2 separate regions of the Homo sapiens genome follow, and region 2 is linked to region 1. Evidence: promoter capture Hi-C in 16 types of primary human blood cells and fetal thymus (Javierre and others, 2016). All regions are on one chromosome and are shown on one strand. Each heading gives the region's core, a stretch centred on a gene start or on the middle of the fragment in contact. The rest is flanking DNA. Distances are from core to core; before and after follow the strand shown. Region 1 holds the start of GRPR (gastrin releasing peptide receptor). Region 2 overlaps CTPS2 (CTP synthase 2).

The links. Contacts are between HindIII fragments. The CHiCAGO score rates a contact against its expected background, and 5 or more counts as called.
Region 2: a contact is called between a fragment that was not itself captured here and the fragment with the promoter of GRPR in region 1, in 2 of 17 cell types (total CD4 T cells and activated CD4 T cells). The highest score is 7.5, in total CD4 T cells.

Annotation. Positions count from the first base shown.
Region 1 is chrX:16,121,577-16,126,744 of GRCh38, forward strand. It overlaps GRPR (gastrin releasing peptide receptor), which reads left to right and starts at 1,989. Exons shown (of 3, transcript NM_005314.3): 1 at 1,989-2,790. The coding sequence starts at 2,378. RefSeq lists an enhancer at 1,690-1,984. The HindIII fragment of the contact is 8,500 bases long and covers 1,036-5,168 here.
Region 2 is chrX:16,641,333-16,646,500 of GRCh38, forward strand. All of the region lies in intron 13 of CTPS2 (CTP synthase 2), which reads right to left. Among named protein-coding and RNA genes, the nearest start is that of S100G, 6.2 kb to the right of the region's middle. The HindIII fragment of the contact is 2,676 bases long and covers 1,710-4,385 here.

The sequences.
Region 1 (5,168 bases), core at 739-3,238:
GGGTGACCCTCTGGATTTATAGATGTCCCTCTGCTCAATGTCATGCTCTTTCCTTTATGCCTTGATCCTAGGCACATATGATTTTCTTCATTCAAAAGACCTTGTCAACACTTAACCTTTAAAGATATCGTCTTTTCTGGAGAAAAGGTAGTTGCTTCACTCCAGAGAGGGGTTGGGGTCTAAAGAGCTGTGAGAGTACACATCTTCATGCTATTTTTCTCAGCCTCTTGCTCAGTGCCTGGCAACTGGTAGATGTTTGATAAATTTTTTTCAAGTAAATAAAGGAGTTGCTAATTCACTCGTATGAGTGCTTGCCTATTGATCTGAGGTCAATCACTCTTCTGAACTCATTGGGCTTTTCCAAAGTAAGCCTTTCCCCCTCAATCTAATAATGATAATAATAATAAGTGCTAATATTAATTGAGCACTTACTATGTGCCAAATACTATGCAATCTTAACATGAATCATTTCATCTAACTTCATAAGTTCTCCTCACCCTGCAGATGAGGAACCTGAAGCTTAAGACACTAAGTAACTTGCCATAATTATAAATGAGGGAGCCAGGATTGAAGCAGAGCCTGTGTACTGTATCATTAAGCTATATTGCTGGCAACTAATCAACACCACTGGGCTCATGGCTATTGGCTGGTTACTGGTGCTACTGATCTCTGCCGAGAAGCTCTTCCACCTCTAGCCATGCAGCATCAGTCTCCCTCCTGCTGGCAGAGAGGGGCGCTGAGCCTTTCATATTTACATAGAAAGCATGGCAGCAGCCTCAGTGTTGGAACCTGCCACTGGAAATGTCCATAACAACACAGTTGGGGGCTTTCTTTGTGGGCCCTGGCATGGTAAGTGCAAGTTTTGTTATTCCTTATGGGTTCTGAAAAATGAGACTTCACCTGTTAGTGACTGGCTTCACGTCATGTACCTGGAGGAGCTGGCTTCACATACGTCATAAAGATGCACTCTAATAATGTATTTAGAAGTTGTTGGCTAAAGGTCTAAGCCTGATTCTAATAGCACTTCCTCAATTAAGCTTTTTCTAGCACTCCTTCAACGATAACTTACTTCTTTTACCACCCACTCAATTCCTCAGTATTGTATCTATCACGCTTTTATAGTTCTTTATTTTCCACACAGGGCTATAAAGAGGATATTTGCTATAAAACATGGCAAACATTCAATTAAAAATGCAAATAGCTGCATCAAAATGCCGATTCATAAAATTTTTAGATCAGATGAGAAAAGACCCATTTTTCTGGAAAAGACTATTGATCATTGAGAGTTAAGAATACAGCTGGTTCCCAATTTAATTTCTCCCTGGTAAACAGAATAGGAATGGCTTGGCAAATCTACAGGAAAGAACATGTGTGCATTGTGCTTCTGGCTTTTCCAGATGTCAGTTGCTGAAGGTTTAAGGTGTGAGTCTGTGCATGTGTTTCTGAGGATCAGTCCCTGTTCAAAGAGGCAGTGGGAAGACTGAGTGGGATAACTCACACATGGACACCCTGTGCATCAGTGTGCGTTTAATTCAAAGACAGACCTCATTTGATAGCAATATTGACATGTCATTCTAATGAATTAGAAAAAATGAGAAAATGGGATGTAAATCCCCATCTGGATTCATGGGGATAGTATCAGAAAGATTTTCAGTGCCTTTGCAGAATGCTAGCAACATTTATTAAATACCTACCCTAGGTGCTATGTGCTTACATGAGAAGCCAAAGGTATCTGTTAAGCTAGGTAGGAACTGCAGTCGGCTGGTTGCTTCTCATCTGGAGAAAGCAGGCAACTGGGCAGTGATTGAAGTGTCCAGCAGGGGGCTGGCATTCTCTGTCTATAAGTAACACTGGTTCCTCTTCAGAGCCTCAGCTCAGCGGAGCTGCCGTTTGCTGGTGAAGCCCGTGACGTGCAAAGCATCCTGCCTATAGGATTTGAGGATTTCTCAGTGCAGTTTTTTTCTACCCACTTTAAACCTCCAGATTCTAAATATCAGGAAAGACGCTGTGGGAAAATAGCAGGCCAAAAGTTCTTAGTAAACTGCAGCCAGGGAGACTCAGACTAGAATGGAGGTAGAAAGAACTGATGCAGAGTGGGTTTAATTCTAAGCCTTTTTGTGGCTAAGTTTTGTTGTTGTTAACTTATTGAATTTAGAGTTGTATTGCACTGGTCATGTGAAAGCCAGAGCAGCACCAGTGTCAAAATAGTGACAGAGAGTTTTGAATACCATAGTTAGTATATATGTACTCAGAGTATTTTTATTAAAGAAGGCAAAGAGCCCGGCATAGATCTTATCTTCATCTTCACTCGGTTGCAAAATCAATAGTTAAGAAATAGCATCTAAGGGAACTTTTAGGTGGGAAAAAAAATCTAGAGATGGCTCTAAATGACTGTTTCCTTCTGAACTTGGAGGTGGACCATTTCATGCACTGCAACATCTCCAGTCACAGTGCGGATCTCCCCGTGAACGATGACTGGTCCCACCCGGGGATCCTCTATGTCATCCCTGCAGTTTATGGGGTTATCATTCTGATAGGCCTCATTGGCAACATCACTTTGATCAAGATCTTCTGTACAGTCAAGTCCATGCGAAACGTTCCAAACCTGTTCATTTCCAGTCTGGCTTTGGGAGACCTGCTCCTCCTAATAACGTGTGCTCCAGTGGATGCCAGCAGGTACCTGGCTGACAGATGGCTATTTGGCAGGATTGGCTGCAAACTGATCCCCTTTATACAGCTTACCTCTGTTGGGGTGTCTGTCTTCACACTCACGGCGCTCTCGGCAGACAGGTAAGTACAGGCTGAAAGTTACATGCTCTCCAAGGGTGATAGACGCCTGGGTAAATGAACTACCATGTCGGGACAGGGAGCTGATTGCACAAGGGAAGTTTTACTCAAACACGGATTCCCTTCCAGGCAGGTTTTTATTCTGGGTATGACTTCTTGAGTGTAACATATTGGTTTAAGAAAGAAAAGTGAATGATGGGGACAGAAGGAGACAGATGAGAAAAAAAAAATCTCTAAGCAGAAAACTGAGGTGCCTTTTTCTGGAGACATATCTATTTAGCATTGCCTTTTCCTAACTTCTCCCTCCTTGCAAAATTAATTGACCAGTGAGAAAGACAATCACACCCAATAGAGTTTAAACCTCAGGCAAATGTTTTTTAGGAGCAATTGAAACCCCTCAGAGAACAGGAAAGTTCCACTGGATTTCTTCAAAACGTTCTTTCAGAAATAACCAAGAGGAGAAAATAAGCCTCATTTCTCTGAAATTCATTTTCCTCAGACAGTTTAACTTTTCTCACAGCTGATTTTGAATTTGACTCTCTGTGATAGAACAATTGTATGCCGGTTTTCCTAAGTCTCTCTTAAATGAAATCAAACATTATTTGAGTTTTTAAAATTTTCTGGAGAAAGCTCTATTCAAGGTTGATTTCTAATTTTAATATCTTTATTGACAATACTTCATATACCATGCTTTTGGGGCTTATTGTGGGGAGGAAGAGGGAGTTCACTACAGTTTTTTATTCTGGGAAATATACATATTTGCAAACTGCATTTCTTGTGTGAGCACATTGCATAAAAGTTTACGTTTATTCAGTCTTAAAACTATATATTCATTCTTTGAACATTTATCAAGTGTCTAGCATGTAAGAAACACTTACCTGAATTAGCAAGTCAAGAAATAGCTGCAGGTTGTTCACATAAATTACTGAACATACTTTATGTACTTCTGTGTTCTGGAAATTGGACATAGTAATGAATAGACTTTCAGACACAGCATAGACCATATGGTCAAACCCAGAAAAACTGCTGCAATGAACCTAGACTATAAATTTTTCACTTATAATCAACTGTATGTTATGTGTTAAAGATACAGAAGGATTTGAGAGTGTTCTGGAAAAGACATAGATGCTGCTCTTGAAAGTTTATACTCCGAAGAAAATGTCCCACATTTTAATACATGTGGTGCTGGATTCTCATTTTGTAGAGGAACAAACAGTCCTCAGGTGATCTGGCTTTGTTGAGTAATGGACAAATAAAGATAGTGTTATCAGTATTTATAGACATGTGTTTATGCTTAGCTACCTGAAGCACACTGCCCAGCACACGACATTTTCAAAGTCTGAAAAGTAATAGCACAGAAGTAAGGTTTGCACATTGTACCGACTGGACAGAGTTTCTCCATTCCCTCCATTCCCCTTCGGCTTGCACATCCTCCCCTGCACATCTGCCCACAGATACCAATGACCACAGACAGTTTCATGTATTGATTCAGGGCTGGCAAACTCTGGAGCTGGCAGAAGGGCTGTGGCTTGTTACCAATGGCCGAGGGCTCTTCAGGATGAGGGTAATTTTCTTAATGGGAAGGAGAGATTTTGGTTTCCGGGTTGGTGAGTGCAGTGGTACAGATGGTGTTTACTCTCTTCTTAGGGAGAAAAACAGAAAGGAAAGTGAGGGCATGAACTGTAAAGATGCAGCTGCAGGGAACTCTTCTCTGGAGTTTCAAAGCAGACCAAGTTCACCATCAACAGAAAGGGAAAGCTCTTTCAAAAGCCAGGTTGCACTCCTTCGCGGCTCCAGTGTGTTCCCAGTAAGTTTATAGTTACTGCCTGTCCTTGCCAAGTTCAGAAATTACTAGAAGCTCCCATATAGCTAACTTTTTGTGTTTTGCTAAGTCTTTAAAAAGCTGATGGATCACCTGAATCACAGGTAGTGCATCTAACCAATTCCAATAGAAAGAATAGGTATTGAGCTAAATGATTAAGACTGTACTTTTTTTCTATTCATCTCATTTTTGAAAACAATGGGATTCTTCTATCTTATATCTCTGAGGTTGGCAGGGCAAATATATATTCTATATTATTTTTTCTTCTCAACAAGGTGTAATCCATATACACAGTAAACTGAACAAGTAACAGCTCAATATATTTTTACATATGTCTATAGAACTGCATAACCAGATGGAGATATAGAACAGTTCCAGCATCCCCCAGAGTTTCTCTTATGCCCTTTCCTAGTTAATACCCCCATACAGAGGCAATCACTATTCTGATTCCAATCACCATAGGTTATTTTTGCCAGTTCTTTAATCTCATATAAATGGAATCATATAGCAAGTACTCCTTTGTATCTATCTTCTTATGCTTATCATTATCTCTGTGATA
Region 2 (5,168 bases), core at 1,798-4,297, 520 kb after region 1:
TGGGTCCCAATACCCAATACCCAAGAAGAGTCTTTACATGTAGTTTGTTCAGTTACTGGCAAGGTTGGTATTCAAGAAATATTCTGGTATGAAGCATTGAGATTAGAGTAAAATTAGCCAACTAAGAACAGGAGGCCAGGTGCAGTGGCTCACGCCTGCAATCCCAACCCTTTGGGAGACCAAGGCAGACAGATCACTGGAGCCAGAAGTTCGAGACCAGCCTGGACAATATGGTCTCTACAAAAAATACAAAAATTAGCTGGGTGTGGTGGCACAGGCTGCAGTCCCAGCTATTCAGGAGGCTGAGGTGGAAAGATTGCTAGAGCCTAGGAGGCGGAGGTTGCAGTGAGCTATGATCACACCACTGCACTCCAGCCTGGATGACAGAGCAAGACCTTGTCTCAAAAATGTAAACAAAAGAAAAGAAAAAGAACAGGAAATCTGCCTTACTGCTTACTTGGGATGAACTTGACAAACACTTGAAGACCAGAAAATATTTCCAAAAGTCAAGTGTAGGGGTGGGAGGTGGGGAGAGAAGGAAAATGCAGTGGGCATAGGGGCTGCCTAAGAGCATTAAAAACTCCTTCAACAAAGCGGGAGAAGTCTAAAAAGTCCTCAAAGAATACTATGAGATTATTTAGCAACATGGAGACAAACACAGAGAAAGAGCTAGAAGAAGCTAAAGAGTGGTACAGAGGGAGTGAGGATTAATGACTTTGTCATTATAGGCTTTTCAGAACTGTTGGCTTTTTAAACTTTGCACATCGTATTTTACTAATGAAAATACAAGTTTAAGTCATCAAGAGTAAAATGTAGTATTTAGGCCTTACACTAGGGTATTAGTTCACATTATCCCTGCTGTTTTCAGAAGTAATAAACGCTACCTTCTCCTGAAATGATAGCACAGAAAGAAAATCCAAGGTATAAATGCCACTGTGATCCTCTGATTAAAACATGCTAGCGTAGGAACCAGTGGAGAAGGCAAAAAATGCTAGAGAAGAGGTGGGAAGCAGGTGAAAATAGGTCTCCAGTACCAAATGTTGCCCTGAACATCAGTGAAAGGAGAAAAGCAGGGAGAGAATTGACAGGCAAGTCGCTGATGGAGGGAGGGAACAGGAAGGTTCTGTGTGGGCCTAGCTTAGGAGATCTCATCTGGGAATCACCATCACATACTCAGGCAAAGAACGCTGCCAGGCACCAGCTGGTGGAACCCCAACACTCAGGAAGCGGAAGGTCAGGGCAAGGCAGAGACTATGGTGCCCAAGCCTGACACACCAGCTGCCTTGCAGAGTTATCAGATGATCCTACAAGCTGGATCCTACAAGATGATGATGGCTGGCTGCCTCTTGGGTTATAAGCAACCTGATTCAGCAGCAAAAATTAACAAAAATGTCTTTGTTCCTTGCATTCCTTCCACTAAAAGCCTGAGAGACAGGAGAACATCACAGTTTCAAAACATATCTATTTTATTGTTACTGGGGTGGTTAAAGAAAATAATCTCAAATATGCTTTAGATTTAACACCAACATTTCCAAAATACTCTAGATTTTTGCATCTGAAAGGAAAACGCATCTTCCATTGCAAAAGGATTGCCTTTGCTTCCTCTAATTCAGCCTAAATACTGGCTGTCATCTGATCCCCAGATTTGTCCTCTCTTGGAACTGAGCCATATAGTATGAGAAAAATAAAAAAGGATCAATAAGTGATAAAGCTTTAGGAGATGTAAAATCAGCATGTAAGGATAAATATGGCACTAATTAACCTTTACTGATGTTTTCTGCAGCCCATAATAAAAGTGTAATGAGTTCAAGACTTTACAGCATCCCAGGTGCCTTAAACAACAAAGTCTACAGGAGTTAGGTTCTCTTAGCAACAGTGAAATTCCTGACTGGACCTACCTGACCTACCCTGGTAAGCCCAGCTTTCCTTTTGTTCCTCATCGTTGAATATTTCACCTGGAGACAAAGGGAAAGCCTACTCACCAGCAGCTATTTCTATTTCCAGACTCTTAGGCAACATACAGCAATTTCCTCTAGCATTTTTTTTTTCCACTTTGTAGCATCGGGGTTTCATCATGTTGCCCAGGCTGGTCTTGAATTCCTGGGCTGAAGCAATCCGCCCACCTCAGCCTCCCAAAGTGCTGGGATTATAGGCATGAGCCACCACGCCCGGCCTCCTCTAGTATTCTTTACAAGTATTCTCCAATTCATTCCTTTCCTACTGCTCATTAGGTTTTCAAGCCTGATTCTGATTTTGATTCTAAGTCATATTCAAATTGTACATAAAGTATCAAGCAGTTTTACATCAGCATTACTTTCCCTAATGTTGGGTTGCACTGCTAGCTCCAGCAGCCTCCATCACTACAGACTAAACCTAAACTCTTCTGGGTGGCTCTCAGGTCCTACCTCACACAGGAGCCCAGACTAGCCATGCCCTCCTCATGTATTCGAACCTGTAGCTTCTACCACAGCTAGCTGGGGCCATTGTCAATGGCACCTCCACTCTCCTACCCACCACCATACTACACACAGACCACCTCCTTCTCTACTTTTCCCAAGATACCTTCTCCCTCCCATTCCTCATGCTTTAGGGGCCCCCTCCAGTTCCCCTTACTGCCTCATAATTAATGCCATTGTTATGCTCAGCCTACCAAATAAATAACCTATACATCATCAATTCATTTTCAGTAACTCATAGTAGGAGACTGAATAATGCCTCCCCTACCCTAAAGATATCCGCATCCTAGTCCCTGAAACCTATGAATCTGTGGCAAAAGGGACTTTGCAGATGTGATTAAGTTGAGGATCTTTTTTTTTTTTTGAGACAGGATCTCACTCTGTCTCCAAGGCTGGGGTGCAGTGGCATGATCATAGCTCATTACAGCCTCTGACTCCTGGCTTCAAGTGATCCTCCCACCTCAGCCTTCCAAGTAGCTGGGGCCACAGGTGCATGCCACCATGCCCGGCTAATTTTTTGGTATTTTTTTGTAGAGATGGGGTTTCGCCATGTTGCCCAGGCTGGTCTGGAACTCCTGGCTTCAAATGATCCTCCAGCCTTGGCCTCCCAAAGTTCTGGGATTACAGGAATTAGCCACCATGCCCAGCCTGTAAATTGAGGCTCTTGAGAAGGGAAGATTCTGGATTATCAGGGTGGGCCCATTGTAACCACAAAGGCTCTTAAAACAGGAAGGCAGGAGGGTCAGGGTCAGAAAAGGGGATATGACCACAAAGCAGAGATCAGAGAGACTGGAAGATGCTATGCTGCTGGCTTTGAAGATGGAGGATGGCCGTGGGCAAGTGGCCTCTAGAAGCTGGAAAAAGCAAGGAAATGGATTCTCTCGTACACCCTCCAGAAGGAACACTGCCCTGCCAACCCACTTTATATCTCTGACTTCCAGAAGAAATGTATATGTGTTTTAAGCCACTGTGTTTGTGGTAATTTGTTACAACAGCCATAGGAATCTAATACCGTTATTTACTACAAACAGCTTTAACTTCCTCTATTATTTCATAAATGCATCTCCTCTCATAAATTAAGTGTAGGCTCATCAAGCACAAGGATTAGATCTTTTTATTTTCCATCTCCACTGAGGAGTTCGACACAGTGTCAAGTTCAGATCAAGTACTCAATAATGGAATCTCTCAGTGTTTTTTGTTTTTTGTTTTTTTGAGACGGAGTCTTGCTCTGTCGCCCAGGCTGGAGTGCAGTGGCACGATCTCGGCTCACTGCAAGCTCCGCCTCCCGGGTTCACGCCATTCTCCTGCCTCAGCCTCCTGAGTAGCTGGGACTACAGGCGCCCGCCACCATGCCCGGCTAACTTTTTTTTTTTTTTTTGTATTTTTAGTAGAGACGGGGTTTCACCGTGTTAGCCAGGATGGTCTCGATCTCCTGACCCTGTGAACCACACGCCTCAGCCTCCCAAAGTGCTAGGATTACAGGCATGAGCCACTGTACCCGGCCTGGAATCTCACAGTGTTTTAAGTGTATTAAAAACTAACAGGGGAGACTAAGGGATGGGTCAGTGGGCCACAGAGTAGCAGAGGGGTGTCTGAGATACTCATGGATGTCCCAAGTTGCAGGTGAGTCTCTTCAGCAGACGGGAAGGGAGGGGTGGTGCCCTACTCAGAGGCCGAGTACACACTATGCCCAGTCCTGCCTGACAGAGTCCTGCCTCTAACCTGAAGCAGTTTATTTCCCATTTCTGGCTTCCAACCTGCGCTGCTGTGTCACCAAGTAGTGTGAGAATGGAATCTACAATGAGGAAATCAATGAGCAGTCCCATAAGTACGTATGTATTTTTCCAGTCTTTTAAACTTGTTTTTTTCCCCACCAGTAAAAGAAAGCTGCTATGGTTTGAATGCATTCCCCAAAGTTGATGTGTTGCAAGCTTAATCCTCAGTGCAACAGTGTTGAGAGGTGGAATCTTTAAGAAGCAATTAAGTTATAAGGGCTCTGCCCCCATGAATGGATTAATGCCATTATCATTGGAATGGGTTAGTTATCATGGGAATGGGTTCCTGGTAAAAGGATGAGTTCAGTCCCCTTCCCTCTCTCTCACCCATGTGATGCCTTCTACCACATGATGACACAGCAAGAAGGCCCTCACCAGATGCCAGCACCTTGATCTGGGACTTCCCAGCCACCCTCCAGAACTGTGAGGAAATAAATTTCTCTTCTTTATAAATTAGCCAGTCTCAGGTACTCTGTTATAGCAGTGCAAAACAGACAAAGGCCTATATCATTTTCATCAGGAAAAGAACTTTCTTACACCTCAGAAAAAGAACCTTCTTATACCTCCAGATGTAAACCTAACACTTAAGTGTGATACTACCTGTGGTCCTAATGTTAACATACAATGGTTGTCCTCAGAGAAGCCCTTCTCCTGGGAGGGGCATGTGGCACGGTGGTTGAGGGTGCAGGCTGGGCCTGAACTTGAATCCCAGCTCTACTGCTGACCAGCAGTGTGACCCTGAGCAGGTCCTTGGATGTCTCTACAGACTGGGGGGACCAACAGCATCCACTTCATAAAGTTGCAGCAAGGATTTAAGGAGGCCGTGGGAGTTGGGTGCCTAGGTCAGCACACTGCCCATAGTAAAGATACGCACTCAAGAAGCACAGGCTATGGTCAGGAGACCTCTGGGAACTCAACTGCTGAAGGTGAGCACAGG